Regions from separate parts of the Homo sapiens genome. Here region 1 is linked to region 2. The links are contacts of gene promoters, found by promoter capture Hi-C in human tissues and cell types (Jung and others, 2019). All regions are on one chromosome and are shown on one strand. Each heading gives the region's core, a stretch centred on a gene start or on the middle of the fragment in contact. The rest is flanking DNA. Distances are from core to core; before and after follow the strand shown. Region 1 has its middle 15 kb from the start of DNAJB5. Region 2 holds the start of GBA2 (glucosylceramidase beta 2).

Region 1 (2,700 bases), core at 22-2,521, 750 kb before region 2:
TGCTGAGGATGTGCAGCTGCTCTGGTTTGTCTTTGGTGCTCCACAGTGGTTGGGAGCCTATGTTGTCCTGTATGCCAGCAAGTGACTCTAAAATAGTTCCAGAAAAATTTATGTATATACCCCTCCAGCAAAGACTGGTAGACTCATTGGGTGCAATCACTTAATGAAACCTCTGTCTAGTCTTTGGCTAAGCTAGCCAAGCAGACACTTCAGTGGCCACACACAACAAAAAAAAATACACAATTTACACAATTAGTAAAGTCACGACACAAGCAAACAACAATGACAAATAGCAACAACAAAGCTTGGGGTCGGGGTGGGGAGTCTGATTTCCAGAAATGCCACATTATACTTGCCAGGCCTCTGAGCCCAAGCTAAGCCATCATATCCCCTGTGACCTGCATGTACACATCCAGATGGCCGGTTCCTGCCTTAACTGATGACATTCCACCACAAAAGAAATGAAAGTGGCCTGTTCCTGCCTTAACTGATGACATTATCTTGTGAAATTCCTTCTCCTGGCTCATCCTGGCTCAAAAGCTCCCCTACTGAGCACCTTGTGACCGCCCCCCCTGCCCGCCAGAGAACAACCCCCCTTTGACTGTAATTTTCCTTTACCTACCCAAATCTTATAAAACGGCCCCACCCCTATCTCCCTTGGCTGACTCTCTTTTCGGACTCAGCCCGCCTGCACCTAGGTGAAATAAACAGCCTTGTTGCTCACACAAAGCCTGTTTGGTGGTCTCTTCACACAGACGCGCATGAAATTTGGTGCTGTGACTCAGATTGGAGGACCTCCCTTGGGAGATCAATCCCCTGTCCTCCTGCTCTTTGCTCTGTGAAAAAGATCCACCTACGACCTCGGGTCCTCAGACCCACCAGCCCAAGGAACATCTCGCCAATTTTAAATCGGGTAAGCGGCCTCTTCTTACTCTCTTCTCCAACCTCTCTCACTATCCCTCAACCACTTTCTCCTTTCAATCTTGGCGCCACCCTTCAATCTCTCCCTCTCTTACTTTCAATTCCTTTCATTTTCTGGTAGAGACAAAGGAGACACATTTTATCCTTGGACCCAAAACTCTGGCGCCAGTCACGGACTAAGGAAGGCAGCCTTCCCTTGGTGTTTAATCATTGCAGGGACACCTCTCTGATTTTTCACCCATGTTTCAGAGGTGTCTGACCACATGGGGACACCTGCCTTGGTCCTTCACCCTTAGCAGCAAGTACTGCTTTTCTAGGGGGCAAGAACCCCCCAACCCCTTCTCTCCATGTCTCTACTCCTCTGCTTTTCTAGAGGGCAAGAACCCCCCCAACCCCTTCTCCTTCACCCTTAGCTGCAAGTACCACTTTTCTAGGGGGCAAGAACCCCCCAACCCCTTCTCTCCGTGTCTCTACCCCTTCTCTGCTTTTCTGGGGGCAAGAACCCCCGATCCCTTATTTCTGTGCCCCAACCTCTTATCTCTGTGCCCCATCCCTTATTTCCACGCCCTGACCCCTTATCTCTGAGCCCCGATCCCTTATTTCCATGCCCCGACCTCTTATCTCTGCGCCCCGATCCCTTATTTCCGCACCCCAACCTCTTATCTCTGTGCCCCGATCCCTTATTTCCACACCGCAATCCCTTATTTCCGCACCCTGACCTCTTATCTCTGCACCCCAACCCCTTATTTCTGTGCCCCGACCCCTTTCCTGCTTTTCTGGAGGGTAAGAACCCCCGAACCCCTTCCCTCCGTGTCTCTACTCTCTTTTCTCTGGGCTTGCTTCCTTCACTATGGGCAACCTTCCACCCTCCATTCCTCCTCCTTCTCCCTTAGCCTGTGTTCTTAAGAACTTAAAACCTCTTCAACTCTCACCTGACCTAAAATCTAAGCATCTTATTTTCTTCTGCAATGCTGCTTGACCCCAATACAAACTCAACAGTAGTTCCAAATAGCCAGAAAATGGCACTTTTAATTTTTCCATCCTACAAGATCTAAATAATTCTTGTCATAAATTAGGCAAATGGTCTGAGGTGCCTGACGTCCAGGCATTCTTTTACACATCGGTTCCTCCCTGGTCTCTGTTCCCAATGCAACCAGTCCCAAATCTTCCTTCTTTCCCTCCCACCTGTCCCCTCAGTCCCAACCCCAAGCATCACTGAGTCTTTCTAATCTTCCTTTTCTACAGACCCATCTGACCTCTCCCCTCCTCACCAGGCAGAGCCAGGTCCCAATTCTTCCTCAGCCTCTGCTCCCCCACCCTATAATCCTTTTATCACCTCCCCTCCTCACACCTTGTCCGGCTTACAGTTTCATTCCTCAACCAGCCTTCCCCCACCTGCCCAGCAATTTCCTCTTAAAAAGATGGCTGGATATAAAGGCATAGTCAAGGTTAACGCTCCTTTTTCTTTATCCGACCTCTCCCAAAATCAGTTAGCGTTTAGGCTCTTTTTCATCAAATATGAGAAACCCAGCCCAGTTCATGGCTCGTTTGGCAGCAACCCTGAGACGCTTTACAGCCCTAGACCCTGAAAGGTCAGAAGGCCATCTTATTCTCAATATGCATTTTATTTTATTACCCAATCTGCTCCCGACATTAAATAAAACTCCAAAAATTAAATTCCAGCCCTCAAACCCCACAACAGGACCTAATTAACCTGGCCTTCAAGGTGTACAATAATAGAGTAGAGGCAGCCAAGTAGCAATATATTTCTGAGTTGCA
Region 2 (2,700 bases), core at 95-2,594:
GGGACTCTAACAGTGTGTCTAATGAGGTACAGAGAATGCCCCAGCTGCTTGTGGGAAATAAGGGGTTGAGACCCCCCCACCCCCAAATAAAACAACATTGTGTTAGTATCACAGCAGCCAGATTATCCTTTCCTACCTTGCCACAAAGTATAGCTAATCCCAAAGGGAAGTCATTGGAAACCAGTATGTGAGAAGAGCCTGAATGGGAAAGGCTGATTGCATGACCAAATGTTCCTACCCTTTCCTTCTGAAAAGACAAAACACTGGGAGGGAAGGGTGTTGCAAAGAGATGTGACCTGGTCTCACGGTCCAAAACCACAGGCCTAAAATATGCCAGGGATAGGGACCGCTTCACTCAGACAAGAAGCCCAACTGCTTTCTTGCCCTTTCCCACCTCTGCTAGAAGTTTTGAGCTGGAACAAAGTGAAGCCAAAGGCATTCTAGGCAATGGGGTCTACTCACCTCAAGCCCATGCCTATATGCTTTATCATGTTGCTTAGGGAGACGTTGTTAGCTTGAAAGGGTTTCCTCTTCTCTGTAAACTCATGAGCCAGACAGATGCGCCAGCCAAAGGGAGGCACCTGGTAGCCCATAGCTTTACCCTCATAGGAAACCATCAGCTGCCCAGAGTCCTCCGGATTGCAGCAGTCCGTCTCTTTTGGGGGTCGGCTGTCTTCGGGACTCTTACAGTCTGTAACCTGCACATCCTTGGTGCCGCCAGTCTCTTCAGGGCAATAAACTTGTGGATCCTCTTTGGCACAGCTTATCTGCTCCGAGGCTGGGACGCCGGTTCCCATGTTCCCTGGATCCTGGGTCCCCATGACCTCGATGGCGCCAAGTCCCGAGCCCTCGGATACTAAGTATCTCGCCAGCCTATTCCAGATGCGGGCGCCGGTCGTTGTTAGGTATCGTCCCGGAGGGCCGGGCGTTGGGGAAAGCTTAAATGAGCTGGTGTTTCAGTGGAGCCGGGGAGCTCTTGCTTCAGTGGGGGCGGCGACAGCAAAGAAGCCGCCTTGGGCTCTCCTTCGGTTGTCTCTGTAGGTCCTGGACGGGAAGGGTCGGGCCTCGTCGTCATTGAGCCGACGATTAGCTCGCCCGGCCAAAGGGCGACTGGGCCCGCAGAGAGGGGAGGAGCCGCGGGGCCAGCCCACCAGGCACCGCCCCGGGACGGGCCCGCAAGGCACCGCCCCCGGGACCTCGGCCCGGCCCCTGGGCCACGGCACCGGGTCCCCCAGGATTGGGCGCCAGGTCCCGCCGGCCGGCTCCGGGGCAGCGCCCGCGCCCAGGTGCCAGCCCGTGGGAAGGTGACCCTGGGCGCCGGGATGACCCGAGCCCTTTCCGGTCTGGCCTGCCGGGCGCTTCCGGCCGGAAGGGACTCCGCGGAGGGTGGGGGACCGAAGGGAAGTCCCGCCTCTACCGCCCAGCGGACGCCGCCGCCGCCGCCGCCGCCGCGTACCTAGCCAGGTCCCTGAGGGGCGGGCAGATGAGGCCTAGGGGTGCCGATCCCTAGTGTCGACTATGCGAGGTGACTAGCGGCGGTGATCTTGGGCTGGGACGTGGAACTTTGAGGAAAGGGGGAGCGGAGGCCAGTTTGGGAACTCCGCGGGGGTGCCCAGGGAGAAGAACCCGTCGCACAGGGGCTGGGGTCTAGGGCCCAGAGCGATGTCCTCCCCCTGGGCAGTACTGAGTCTTCAGTCGCCTCCCTCCCACCCGCCTACCCCTCCTATATCCAGGAGCTCCCTCGGGCACCACGGTGCTGACCACCCCTGTCCTCAGCCCTCAGCCCTAGGTGCTCACCGCAACGCCCCTCCCTGTCAAGGTGCTGACCTCCGCCCCGCCTTGTTTCCTTCTAGATCTGATTCCGGAGCTGCCATGATTGAAGTGGTAGCAGAGCTCAGCCGGGGTCCTGTATTTTTGGCTGGGGAGGCGCTGGAGTGTGTAGTGACCGTCACCAACCCCCTTCCGCCCACGGCCACTTCTGCATCCAGGTGGGGATGCTGGCACTGAAGGTGGTGGCCCTTCTGGGAAGAAGCCAGATTATCTCTGGGGCTGAGGCAGAGCTCAGGTTGTCCTGTAGCGACACCACCTCCTCTTGCTCACTGTGCTGTCATTGTAGGAGAGGGCTCTTTAACAGAAGATGTGGATGACATAGCTGTACGCTTTCCTTCCCCTCCCCCGTTCCCCTTTTTACGCACAGTCTGCTACTCTTTATTTAATGGTTTCTCTTTGGGATTGTGGATTTCCTGATCACTAGGACAGCCATCTAACCTTGTTGGTTAAGATGGTGTGATAGGGAGCTTGGGAAAGCATTTGTGAGGTCAGGAACTACCTCTGATGCCTCCTTTTCCTTTTCCCACAGTGAGGCCCTGGCCTGGGCCAGTGCCCAAATCCACTGCCAGTTCCATGCCAGTGAGAGTCGAGTAGCACTGCCTCCTCCTGACTCTAGTCAGCCAGATGTCCAGCCCGACAGCCAGACTGTCTTTCTGCCACACCGAGGTTAGAGAGGGGCATTTGCCTGGGAGAGGGGGGGTGCGGAGGGTGTGTGTGGAGGCATTGTCACCCATGGGTGAAGTTGTTAATTGTTCTTGTTCTTATAGTCCCTGTCATGCTGGGGATGTTGGGGAGCATGACTATTGCTTTAGGGGTAGAAGACTATTCCCATTTCACAGCAGGGACGGAGGGCCTGGCAGCCTTTCACTA

Evidence for each region. The method cuts DNA at HindIII sites, captures the fragments that hold promoters and counts their contacts. A contact is called where the count stands out against the background at its distance.
Region 1: a fragment that was not itself captured here is called in contact with the fragment with the promoter of GBA2 in region 2 in 1 of the 25 tissues and cell types used here (spleen).

The regions. Positions count from the first base shown.
Region 1 is chr9:35,002,940-35,005,639 of GRCh38, forward strand. It overlaps the pseudogene LOC100420114. Among named protein-coding and RNA genes, the nearest start is that of DNAJB5, 15 kb to the left of the region's middle. RefSeq lists an enhancer at 385-885. The HindIII fragment of the contact is 4,415 bases long and covers 1-2,700 here.
Region 2 is chr9:35,747,884-35,750,583 of GRCh38, forward strand. It overlaps GBA2 (glucosylceramidase beta 2), which reads right to left and starts at 1,345. Exons shown (of 17, transcript NM_020944.3): 1 at 463-1,345. The coding sequence starts at 821. It overlaps RGP1 (RGP1 partner of RAB6A GEF complex), which reads left to right and starts at 1,404. Exons shown (of 9, transcript NM_001080496.3): 1 at 1,404-1,525; 2 at 1,854-1,988; 3 at 2,360-2,496. The coding sequence starts at 1,873. RefSeq lists silencers at 1,044-1,443, 1,564-1,613, 1,644-1,693. The HindIII fragment of the contact is 11,811 bases long and covers 458-2,700 here.